3 separate regions of the Homo sapiens genome follow, and regions 2 and 3 are each linked to region 1. Evidence: promoter capture Hi-C in 16 types of primary human blood cells and fetal thymus (Javierre and others, 2016). All regions are on one chromosome and are shown on one strand. The core of a region is centred on a gene start or on the middle of the fragment in contact, and the rest is flanking DNA. Distances in the headings are between cores, read along the strand shown.

The links. Contacts are between HindIII fragments. The CHiCAGO score rates a contact against its expected background, and 5 or more counts as called.
Region 2: a fragment that was not itself captured here is called in contact with the fragment with the promoter of INTS9 in region 1 in 1 of 17 cell types (endothelial precursors); the score reaches 5.4 in endothelial precursors.
Region 3: a contact is called between a fragment that was not itself captured here and the fragment with the promoter of INTS9 in region 1, in 7 of 17 cell types (fetal thymus, naive CD4 T cells, non-activated CD4 T cells and 4 more). The highest score is 7.4, in fetal thymus.

What each region holds. Positions count from the first base shown.
Region 1 is chr8:28,888,469-28,891,923 of GRCh38, reverse strand. It overlaps INTS9 (integrator complex subunit 9), which reads left to right and starts at 1,955. Exons shown (of 17, transcript NM_018250.4): 1 at 1,955-2,050. The coding sequence starts at 2,042. It overlaps HMBOX1 (homeobox containing 1), which reads right to left and starts at 1,529. Exons shown (of 10, transcript NM_001135726.3): 1 at 1,246-1,529. RefSeq lists a silencer at 1,287-1,406 and enhancers at 1,059-1,615, 1,777-1,976, 1,616-2,172. The HindIII fragment of the contact is 2,854 bases long and covers 44-2,897 here.
Region 2 is chr8:29,315,075-29,318,529 of GRCh38, reverse strand. The region is part of intron 1 of LOC124901922 (a long non-coding RNA gene); the gene reads left to right. Among named protein-coding and RNA genes, the nearest start is that of DUSP4, 34 kb to the left of the region's middle. RefSeq lists an enhancer at 3,312-3,455. The HindIII fragment of the contact is 3,002 bases long and covers 228-3,229 here.
Region 3 is chr8:29,258,335-29,261,789 of GRCh38, reverse strand. The region is part of intron 1 of KIF13B (kinesin family member 13B); the gene reads left to right. Among named protein-coding and RNA genes, the nearest start is that of KIF13B, 3.0 kb to the left of the region's middle. The HindIII fragment of the contact is 3,145 bases long and covers 1-3,080 here.

The DNA.
Region 1 (3,455 bases), core at 706-3,205:
ATCACTCTACCTTATATGATACATGGGTGATTTTTTTTAAGCTTCAGCGTAAATAAAAACAGTAATCACTTTATACCATTCAACTTTACATAGTGTTATCTTTAATGCCAACTGCATTCTTCCCTTTACTCACCCAATGCTTCTTCACTGTTCCATTCCACCAGCTTTCAGGCAAATGCAAGACAGAACAGGGTGGAGTAGAAGAAAAATACAAGCAGCGCCTTTCGGCGCACCCCCTCTCCCGCAAATAATTTCCAACAGTTCCTCCTGCTACGAAAATAAGTCGCCCTATCTCCAGATACATAACAGACATTCCGTCTCCTTAGTAGACACACACAGACGCGTACACAATCCAGCACTCCCGACCCCCACCCCAGGCCCCCCGAATCTTCAGCAATTATTCATCTAATTCACACGAAGACAAGATACCTCTACCTACTGTTTCGGGGTGAAGGTGGGTGGAGGACGCCTTTCAAAGTAGCCCCAATAGTGTAACCAAAACACGGTTCCGGAATAAAATATTAAGAAACACTTTTCCTTTCCCACCTATCTACCGACTTGAGGATGCAAAAAATCCATCTCCACATCACACCATCTCTACAGTTCTCGTGGCTGGAGTTTGGGGTGGAGATTCGTCCAGGGGAGGGGGCGGAGGCGAGTGGCAGAGTGTGAGCGGGCGACGGGACACAAGCGAGTTGTTGAGCCCGGCCGCCTCGCACCACGTCGCCAGCCCAAACGCCCAGCACCAGGACCTCACGCCCGCCCCTCAGCCCAGGCCCAGAGCGAGCGAGGACTCGCGCTGTCTAACTTCCCATCTACAGACACCGCTCCAAGACGAGCAGAGCACACAAGTACACGTCACACAGTTTAAACACACTTACACACCCCAAACAAACCAACACACCTGCAAATCACCTCACAGTTTCCAGAACTCCACACCGGAGACCCCACCTCCAGGATTCAAACCTTCCGCTCATCGTAGAGGAAACCAGAAGAGTTGGGGGGCAGTCGACGCCTTTCCAGGACCGGACCCCACGAACTGCCCCACCCCACAGCCCGCGTCTGGGTCACCCACTCGGAAGCCCCCTGCTTCCTCCCTCCTCTCAATCCGGCCGCTTACGAGACCCATCCCCAGCGTCCGCTCACTTCCTCCCCAAAACCCCTCCAAAAAAATTGTTTTAAGTGAAGAGAAAGAAGTGAGGAAAGAGACTTGAGGTAGTCCGGCTTCAAAACCGCTCGACTCACCTCAGAATCCTCGCTGAGTTCTCTCCGCCCGGCACAGCCCCCTCCCCAACGTCCCAGTACGAAGGGCTGAGATAGGGAGGAGGGAAGGCGGGAGGGGGAGGGGTGTCTTCCGCGTGGGGCGCCCGTCGGGAGGGGACTGGGGAGGGGTTGAGGCCGGCGCAGGAAGAGGAGAAGGGGGAGGGGAGGCCCCTATCTCCCAGTCTCCCCCTGAAAAACCTCCCTTGTCTCAATCACATCAGACTGACTGTCTTTGTCTGGCTGACAACCGCCATATTGATATCAACAGCCCCTCTCCCACCTGCTGCCGCCGGGCGTCCCTGGGAGTTGTAGTTCCTGCCTCCCCTGAGAAAAATTGCGGAGCCCGGCGCCTAGAGGGCCAAGGGAACTACAACTTCCGGCAAGCCCCGTGCCCATCCGCCTTCCCTTTGGGAGGAGGGAAAGGGGAGTCGGAGCCGTCGGGACTACACATCCCAGAACACCATGGGCCCCAGGCCCGTAAGGAAGACATGATATCATGCTGGGGTGGAGAGGGAGGATGCATTGGCGGCTGGGATGAATTTGAGCTGACGGAAGGAGGCGTTCGGAGAGGAAAGGGAGGAAAAGGAAAGGCGACCACAGTTCCCATGATGCCTGGAGGGGAGACTACATTTCCCATTATTCCCCTGGAAGGGACGTGAGGATGAAAGACTGCAAGTCCCGCGATGCTCTCGGCTGGCAGGTGGCGGAGATTGCACCGGAAGACGCTTCCTGGGTTTGAGGAGTTCAGTGACTGCTATTGAACCACCAAAAGTCCATTATGAAACTGGTGAGTCTTCGCTCCTAGGTCAGAGGGCAAAGGTGATGCTATAACCTTTTGGACCTCTTTTTTTCCTACGTTGGGCAGGGAATCGTCGCACGGGAGGGGTAGCAATTATTGAGCTGGAAAGTGGAGTGGGCTAAGGAAAGCTGCTTTTTGTTGTTGAGAAGGTTTGAATTCCCTCTCCCCCACCCCATCCCTCCCAGGAGGTCTTTTTTCACTCGTTAGTGGGTCTTTTTGTTCAGACAAGAGGTTGACTGTCACAGTCCTTCGCCCATGAACTCTGTGGGCTCTGTTAACCAGGTTTGGACGTCCTGGTTCCCACGTGAGGGTTATAATAGGCTGTTAACAATCCGTTTCCATTCGATTGGCGCTTGAGTATCCTGTCTCCCTACTGTTGTTGAGACTGGCTAGATTTAAGCAGACAGTAAAAAACATCCAGCAGAACGTAATCACTTATTAAATATCCTGTTATATAGACTCCTCACTGCCCTTGGAATTCAGGACGAGGTCAGAGTGTGGAGAAGTTGAGTCTTAAACCCTGCATGGGATTTAGATGGGCAGAGAAGTGTTATATGGTATTCCATTCTAAGACTGTAGGGACTTCATGAGCCAAGGCTGAATGAAGCGTGCTCGGTATACCTGAAGTCTTAACATCACACAGCTCAAGCACCTGGTTCATGGAGGCTCCTCAGACCTTTGATTTGAGCCATTTGACTCATTGTGCACACAAGTCTAACTAGTTTATTCCAACTCGATTCAATTAGTTAATAACATAGTGTAGAAAGGCAGGTGTGAAACACTGTTTCTCAACCTTTTAAAACCCATATTTGTGCAGCCAAGTTATTGTCAAGCTTTACTTGAGGCAGGAGAATCGCTTGAACCCGGGAGGCAGAGGTTGCAGTAAGCCAAGATCGCGCCACTGCACTCCAGCCTTGCAACAGCGCGAGACTCTGTCTCAAAAAAAAAAAAAGTTTATTTTTTACCATTTATATAATTATCTGAACATGCTTTGCCAAACCACACAACACACCTACCCTCATCTTGATAATCATTGTGCTACAGGCATATATTCTGCAAAGCCAGCTGTTTTCTGCGAAGTCAGAGAAAGTATTAAAAGTGGATTCAATTCCGAAATTGTCCCCGTATAAATCTGTTTATATAAGGGGAAGGATGCGGGTCACTAAACCTTGAGAATAGCAACTTACCCCTGGGTCAGTGTGTTACACATTTAATAATGCAGAATTAAAAGTCATAGCCGTTGCCCTACAGAAGCATGCAACCTAAGAAGAAGATAGAAAAGTAAACCAAAGTTATTATTTATTTATTTAGAGACAGGGTCTGGCTTTGTGGGGCCCAGACTGAAGTGCAGTGGCGCGTTCTCAGCTCGCTGCTACCTCCACCTTTCGGACTC
Region 2 (3,455 bases), core at 479-2,978, 430 kb before region 1:
AGACGTAAGATAACCATGGGGACCCCAATCAAGTAAGGTGCCATTATTAAACAGAGGCCCTTGACATGGTGCAGATTGTCTGCATGGAGACCACTGGACAGCCTCAAACTTATATCACCAGTCCCCACTCGGACGGCATATAGGAAGATCAGGCACTTGTACAGCTTCATGAGAGACCTTAGTAAGATTAGTAGTAACAGCAGAAATAAAGGTCAAGTTTGCAAGCTTAGCATCCCTTTTAGGCTGATAGTTAAGATACTCCTGAGGAATGAGAGTAACACACTTACCATGTGCTATTGTGGAAAAACAAAGAGGGGATTACTAAACAATAAAATCAAGGAGTCATTAAGTTTAATCCATCCCAAATTTTCAGTTAAGGGGTATGACAGGGACACCTATCGACCTCCTGTCCAAGAAGTATCATTAGATAACAAAGGCAGGTCAGCATCCCACTGTGTAATAACATTAAAAACAAGGGGATTTAGAATATGACTCCAATAAACATGTTCTTGAGCTGATCTCACTTGGCAAAGGACAAGAATTACCAACCAGCCCAACATCTGTGTCTGTCTTACTTTTCTCAGAAGTTTCCCCAATTACCGCCAGTTACATAAGAAACTGATTCTCTGCAGTTGCAGGGGCCTCCACAGCGGCAAGCCGGATAGTTGCCTGTTGGTCCAATTTCTTTAGCGGTCCCCAGGTAATGTCAGGTGCCTTCTGAGTCATCACCGTCATTGTCAGTCAATTCTCCAATGACAGGTCCTATTCTAGAGAAGAGAGCCCCATATTCCCCCTTTTTTGTTTGTTTGATGAGTTTGTTTAATAACTGGTTGAGTTATAAGGAATACCAGTTTTGTGTTGTATGTGCCAAAGTTGCAATACATGTGCAAATCGAGCACTAAGATAGCAAGGTCTATTATCAGTTTTAATAGTTTGTGGAAGACCTAAAGTCATAAGAGATTCAAAAAGATGAGCAATTGCATCTTCAGTTTATTTCTCCAGTCCAGGGGGTAGCATGTATTAAGCCTGTATAAGCGTCTACGGTAACTTGGAGAAATTTGAAACGTCCAAAGGATGGATACTGAGTAACATCAGTTTGCCAAATAACATTAGGCACCAGACCTCGTGGGTTGGTACCAAGCCCTAAGGAAAAGGGGGAAAGAGAATGTCATTGGCAATCAGGACAAGTTTTAATAATCATGAGAGCTTGAGCAAGTGTCAAATGAAACTGTTGTTTAAGACTGTGGGCGTTCTAATGAAAAAAAAAACAATGATCAGCTTGAGCTTGCAAAAAGGCAGGAGACTCTGCAAACCACATCTGTGTTTGTACCAGAGCATCAGCTCGAAGGTTCCCTTCTGATAAGGACTAGATAGCCCAGAATGAGAGCAAATATGTGTGATGTAAAGAGGGTGATGACAGGCACAGAGGAGCTCTTGTGCTGTAAGAAACAAAGCTAGTAGGGTTTCATTAGTAATGCCCTTCGCATGTGCAAGATCTAAATCAGTAATACTACACCACATAAGAGGAATCACTTTATCATCATATTTATGTCATGGTGAGGAAAAGTTTGTAAGGCCAATATGAGGGCACCTAACTCCGCCTGTTGCGTAGTTTTAAAACGTTCCTGGATTTTGTGCTGCCAGTTCTGCGTGGCATCTTGCCACACTATAGTTGCCTTTCCAGTTTTTCCTGAACCATCTGTAAAGACAGAAGTGGCGTGAAGCAAGGGCTCAGAGACAACATAAATACAAATTTAACAGGCACAGTTTGTAAAAAGTTCAGGAGTTTAGAGGCTGGTCAATGAAAGCTGATATTACCAATAAAGTCAGTCATTGCTACTTGCCAATCAAGATCACAAGCTAGGAGAGTATGAAATTGTTTCTTGTTTAACAGTAGGAAAAGAGTAGTGGGGTTATTTTGGCCATATGCCCAGTTAGGCCACAATTATAATACGTGGCCCCAGTCAACATTGCAGCAAAGGTCTGAGCCAGATGGGTTGTAGTGCCTATATTCTGGCACACTTTAATAAACACGCTGATTTCAGTGGCAGTGGCTCGGACTGGAGTTATTGCTGCCTGACAATCCTTATTTGCATTTTCAAAAGCCAATTACAACATAAGAAGTTTGGCAGCTTTAGGATAGGGTGCCTGTTTTTTTATTGCAGCCTGCAATCAGTTGATAAATTCAATGTATGTTTCTGTGGCACCCTGTTTAACTATCATAAAGGAACCCTGGGATTGTCTTATGGGTATTTTTTATGCTTGTATTGTTAGCTGTGAGCATTGAGGAAATAGACGGCTATCTGCCTGAGCCTAAGCCTGAGCCTGAGTTGAAGCAAAAGGCCCTGTTCCCAATAGCATATCAAGTTGCATGGGGATATTATTATCCAAATTGTGTAAGGATTGCTACACGGCTAAATCACTGGACTCACTCCACCACACAGTATATTCAGCAGGTGAAACCAAAAGTTTTAGTAAAGTTTTCCAGTCATGTGGAGTCATCTTATAACCATTTCCCAAAGCCTCAATCATCCCCTGCGTAAAGGGTGAATGTACACCATTTTCATGAATACTTTTCTTTAACTCTTCAAAGGCAGTAAAAGGCAAACTCTCATGACGTCTCCTGTTGTTTTGAACAATAACAAGGAATGCGCCAAAAAGCGCCTCAGAGTCTCCCTTCCGAAGTCCCTCTTGGAGGCCCCCGAGGCCCCCGTCTACTAAGACTGACCGAGGTCTTATCCAAGAACCATCTCTTGGGCGGCCTCCAATCTCCTCAAGGCGGATGGGAGGCGCTGTTGGCTGAATGGGGCCAACGGATGCAGGTCCCTTTAAGGGTGGAGGAAAGGAGGGCAATGACTTTTCTATAGGGGAAGGAAAAGGCTCCGGTCTGTCCTCATCCTCACTAGCAAAAATCTCTTCTTTAGCCCCCATAGAAGGGAATGAAGAGTGGGGAGGAGTCTCTCCCTGTTGTCTTGGTTCCTGTTTTTCCTTCTCCTTTAAATCTCCTGAATTCCCTTCAGGCGGAGAAGATGGGCAGCCTGACTCACCGCAATCCGGCAGAAAAAGAGGCTACAACGCGGAGCGTACCAGCGCTCAGGTGGTCAAAATAGTTAAAATGGCCTTGCTCATATCCTCTTTCCGGGCAGCGGACTACCTGCACCCATAAATAATTCTAAGGTTCCTTGATCAGGAAACAGAGGGCATTCCTGCCGAATTAAAAACAAAAGCTTGTGTAGAGCTCCAGGCTCTACAGTGCACTGGATAGCCTTAAGTAGCTGTTGCACTGTTTTAAAAAAATACTTTCTGTTCTTTGGTCAAATCTTGACCCATGATAACCCAACCCCTGGTAGTTTACGCGTGGATACCGTCCTCCTGATGGGAGTCAGGACTGTCCCTTACCGGGATTCCCCGAAAATTGATGAGTTTTCCAACTTCACGCGTAACTTCAAGGCGAT
Region 3 (3,455 bases), core at 259-2,758, 370 kb before region 1:
TTTTGTCCTGTTCCTGCTAGGTCCGATTAAAGCTGTCAGGTGAGTTTTTTTCCCTAAGAACTTAATTACTTTAAGTTCTCAACTAGTGCAAGATTGAGTCCTGCTTTGCTTCACTAATCTCGTGCTCTGACAACACACAATAAACGTCGATACAATTCTGAAAATTTTCAGAAGCATCAGTTTTTAAATATTCAGGTATCTGTATTTCAGTTTACTTCCAGTTTACCATCACAATAATTTAAAGAAAGAAGCCAAATGAAACATAACTTATCTGGGAATTGATTCTGAAAGGATGGTTTCAGCACATTCTTAAAATTTCCTTTTCACAAAAAACTTGGAAATGTCAGTGCTAAAAAGAGGCCGCTAACCAACCACCACAAAAGACATCTCAGATATTTAGAGCCCTTTCCCTCTCCCTTTCCCCATTGGTTTCACTTTTTGAGGGAAATTCTTATGCTTTTCTCTTATAAATTGCCATTGATAAGGTTGTAATAAACATCAGAGTTTAGAGGAAGGCAAAGAATAATAGTTTTAGCTGTGGAACGGATGTGAGCTGATCCTTGGGTTCAACAATCATTTTGAAATTGAGGTTTACCCATAGATTCCATTAGCCTATATAGAGAAGTGCATTATTTGGTGTAAAGTACCTCCTGTGTTCACTTAGTGCCCATTCTTAGCCTTATATTTCCTGACGTGCATGTGGACTTCTTTTTTCAGTGATTACCACACATAAATTTGTTCTTTTCCATTTTTGTTATGAAGTAATTGTTCACATAAATATAAAGGTTATTATGGAATACAGTGTGGTGGGATTGTAAATCCAGTGATTTTTAAAAATTGGTGTCCAAAGTTTGTATAAAAAGACTAAAACAGGCCAGGCACGGTGGCTTACGCTTATAATCCCAGCACTTTGGGAGGCCGAGGCGGGTGGATCACCTGAGGTCAGGAGTTCGAGACCAGCCTGCCTAACATGGCAAAACCCTGTCTCTACTAAAAATACAAAAAATTAGCCGGGCGTGGTGGTGGACGCCTGTAATCCCAGCTACTAAGGAGGCTGAGGCGGGAGAATAGCCTGAACCCAGGAGGCGGAGGTTGCAGTGAGCCAAGATCGTGCCACTGTGCTCCACCCTGGGCGACAAGAGTGAAACTCTGTCTCAAAAAAAAAAAAGACTAAAACAAAACCATATTTCTTTCCAGTAATTTCCTTTTTTTTCTTCCTTGTATGATCTGTAGGAACCTTTCCAGTAATTTTGAAAAGAATATTACTTTGAACAGTTATTAGTATTATGTAATACTGTATAATTATGACAAAGAGTAAAACTTGAGTCCTAATAGTTTCTATCATATAGGTGCCGGAAGCAACCTTATAAATCGCTATCTATAAAAGAGGACGGGGATGAGAATGGGTTACTGTGATGATGTAGTTTTACTGTGTAGACTCTGATATTTGGAATCACATTAGCTATCTTTTGAGGAAAATCTGAAAATTTCCAGAAAACTCTGGTGTATTAAGTTCTTGTGTGATTCAGTGGTTGTGCTTAGGTGTTTGGAGTTTTAAGGTGGTTAGCTGATTTATTATTTAACAGTTATCCTCGAAGTGAGAGTATTTTAGTCTTTCTGCTAAACTGTATGTGGGTTTGGGAACCTTAGTTATTTGAAGGTTAAGCATTAGGCCCTAATTCAGTAACAGGAAGAGTTGTAATGGCTAATTTGTCAGAAATATTTGTCTAGTCATACATTTATTTTAACATTCCACTAACAAAAGGAAAAAGAAAAAGAAAAAAGTTCACATACTTTCTTCATCCTAACAGCTTTTCATTTCCATGCCAGTTTGTGCTCACACGTGTATGTAATTTTACATAATTTTAATATTACAACCTTTATTTTGCCTTTCTTCATCTGAGATGCAAAGCTAAACAACTAGAGAAAAGGGTAAATTTTTGTCACAAGATCTTCAAGTTCTATTTGCAGATATCGTTTGTTTTCCAGTGTTGTTGTTCAGACTGTACAGCTAAACAGATAATTCTTGTGTGCTTCCATGTGCCGCACAGAACACCCATTCATACATTATTAACCCGTCTAATCATTACAGGAGCTGAAAGTTCTGTAGCCGTAATTGGTGGGATTAGTTAGATCAGCAACATTCTCCTTTCCAGGAATTTGATGTTTTCTAACTTTAGGTGGCTTAAAAAACATTTAATAGGTAAGCAAACATTGATTGAGTGCCTGCCAGGTATCTGGCTTATATTAGATAGGATGAGATCTTAATGCTTTTCCTCAAGGGATTTCCTGTGTGTAAATCTGTATAAGATCAACTACCAAAATAAGTAAATATCTATAAAAGGTGTTTGGAATACCTTTGTTACCTACCTAGCCTAAGGGGGTAGAACCGGGAAACGAAAGAAATGAAGATAGAAACAGTGAAATAGATTATTTCAGGTGTTAGGGAGAATGGACAAGAAATTTATTTCAGGAGATATTTCAAATGAGTTTACTTGGCATTTTCCAATACTTGATGTGGTGAAAGACACAGAAGTATGTAATAATGTCTAATAGAGTCAATGTAGAGTCAGTGCCTTGGTAATCATGATCTAGTATCTCAATGGAGGGACTATTATACAGCGATTAAAATGATGACAGTCAAAACCATTTAACAAGGAAGATCGTTTTCTCTGTTAGTGGAAAAAGAATGTAAAGCTGTACGTGTAACTGATCAAATCTATTATTATTACTATGTAAAAATGTATACAGGAATGGGCAAGAGCTAGAAAGAAACATGAAAAAGTGAAATTGATTGTTCTTGTTAGGGGGATTTTACTTCCTAAAAGTTTTCTTAGGGTTGCCTGTTACCATCATATTCAGTTTCTTAAAGCATGCTTTATGGTTCATGCCTGTGAGGAAATGACTGTCATGGGCTTGAAAAGAAAATGCCTGTGAAAAGATTAGATTAAAAGGTAAACAGCTGTAGCAGGCTGCTAGTTACTAAGTGCCAGGTGAATGACAGGGAAATAAGGGAATCGAGAGGAGTTTAGACTTCACTGAGGAGGGTGAACTTTGGTTGGACTTCCAGGGAGGAAGCTTATGATGTGAGCACGGGAGAGGGGATGGCATGTATTCTTTGAGGAGGAAGTATGGCCTGAGAGTGAGGACACAGAGACTAGAATGAGTAAAGCAGGTTTAGGCAGCAGAGATGAGATCTGCCTGCCAGAATGGAGATTCTGTGAGGATAGCTAGAGAATGATGGGACAGGAAAGGTCAGGTGGATTGCAGGAAGCCCTGAAAGCAGCCAGGCCAGAAGTCCGGACCTAGGGTGGCTGGTCCACGCACTCTGTTTTGCTTCTTGGGACCTTGTATGGGGCTTGGACACAAACACAACGGGGAAAGATTGCTAGATCCCAAAGCAAGATTGGAAGCTTCAGTAGATGACCGATTTCTGGCATAGCTGGGCAGGATTT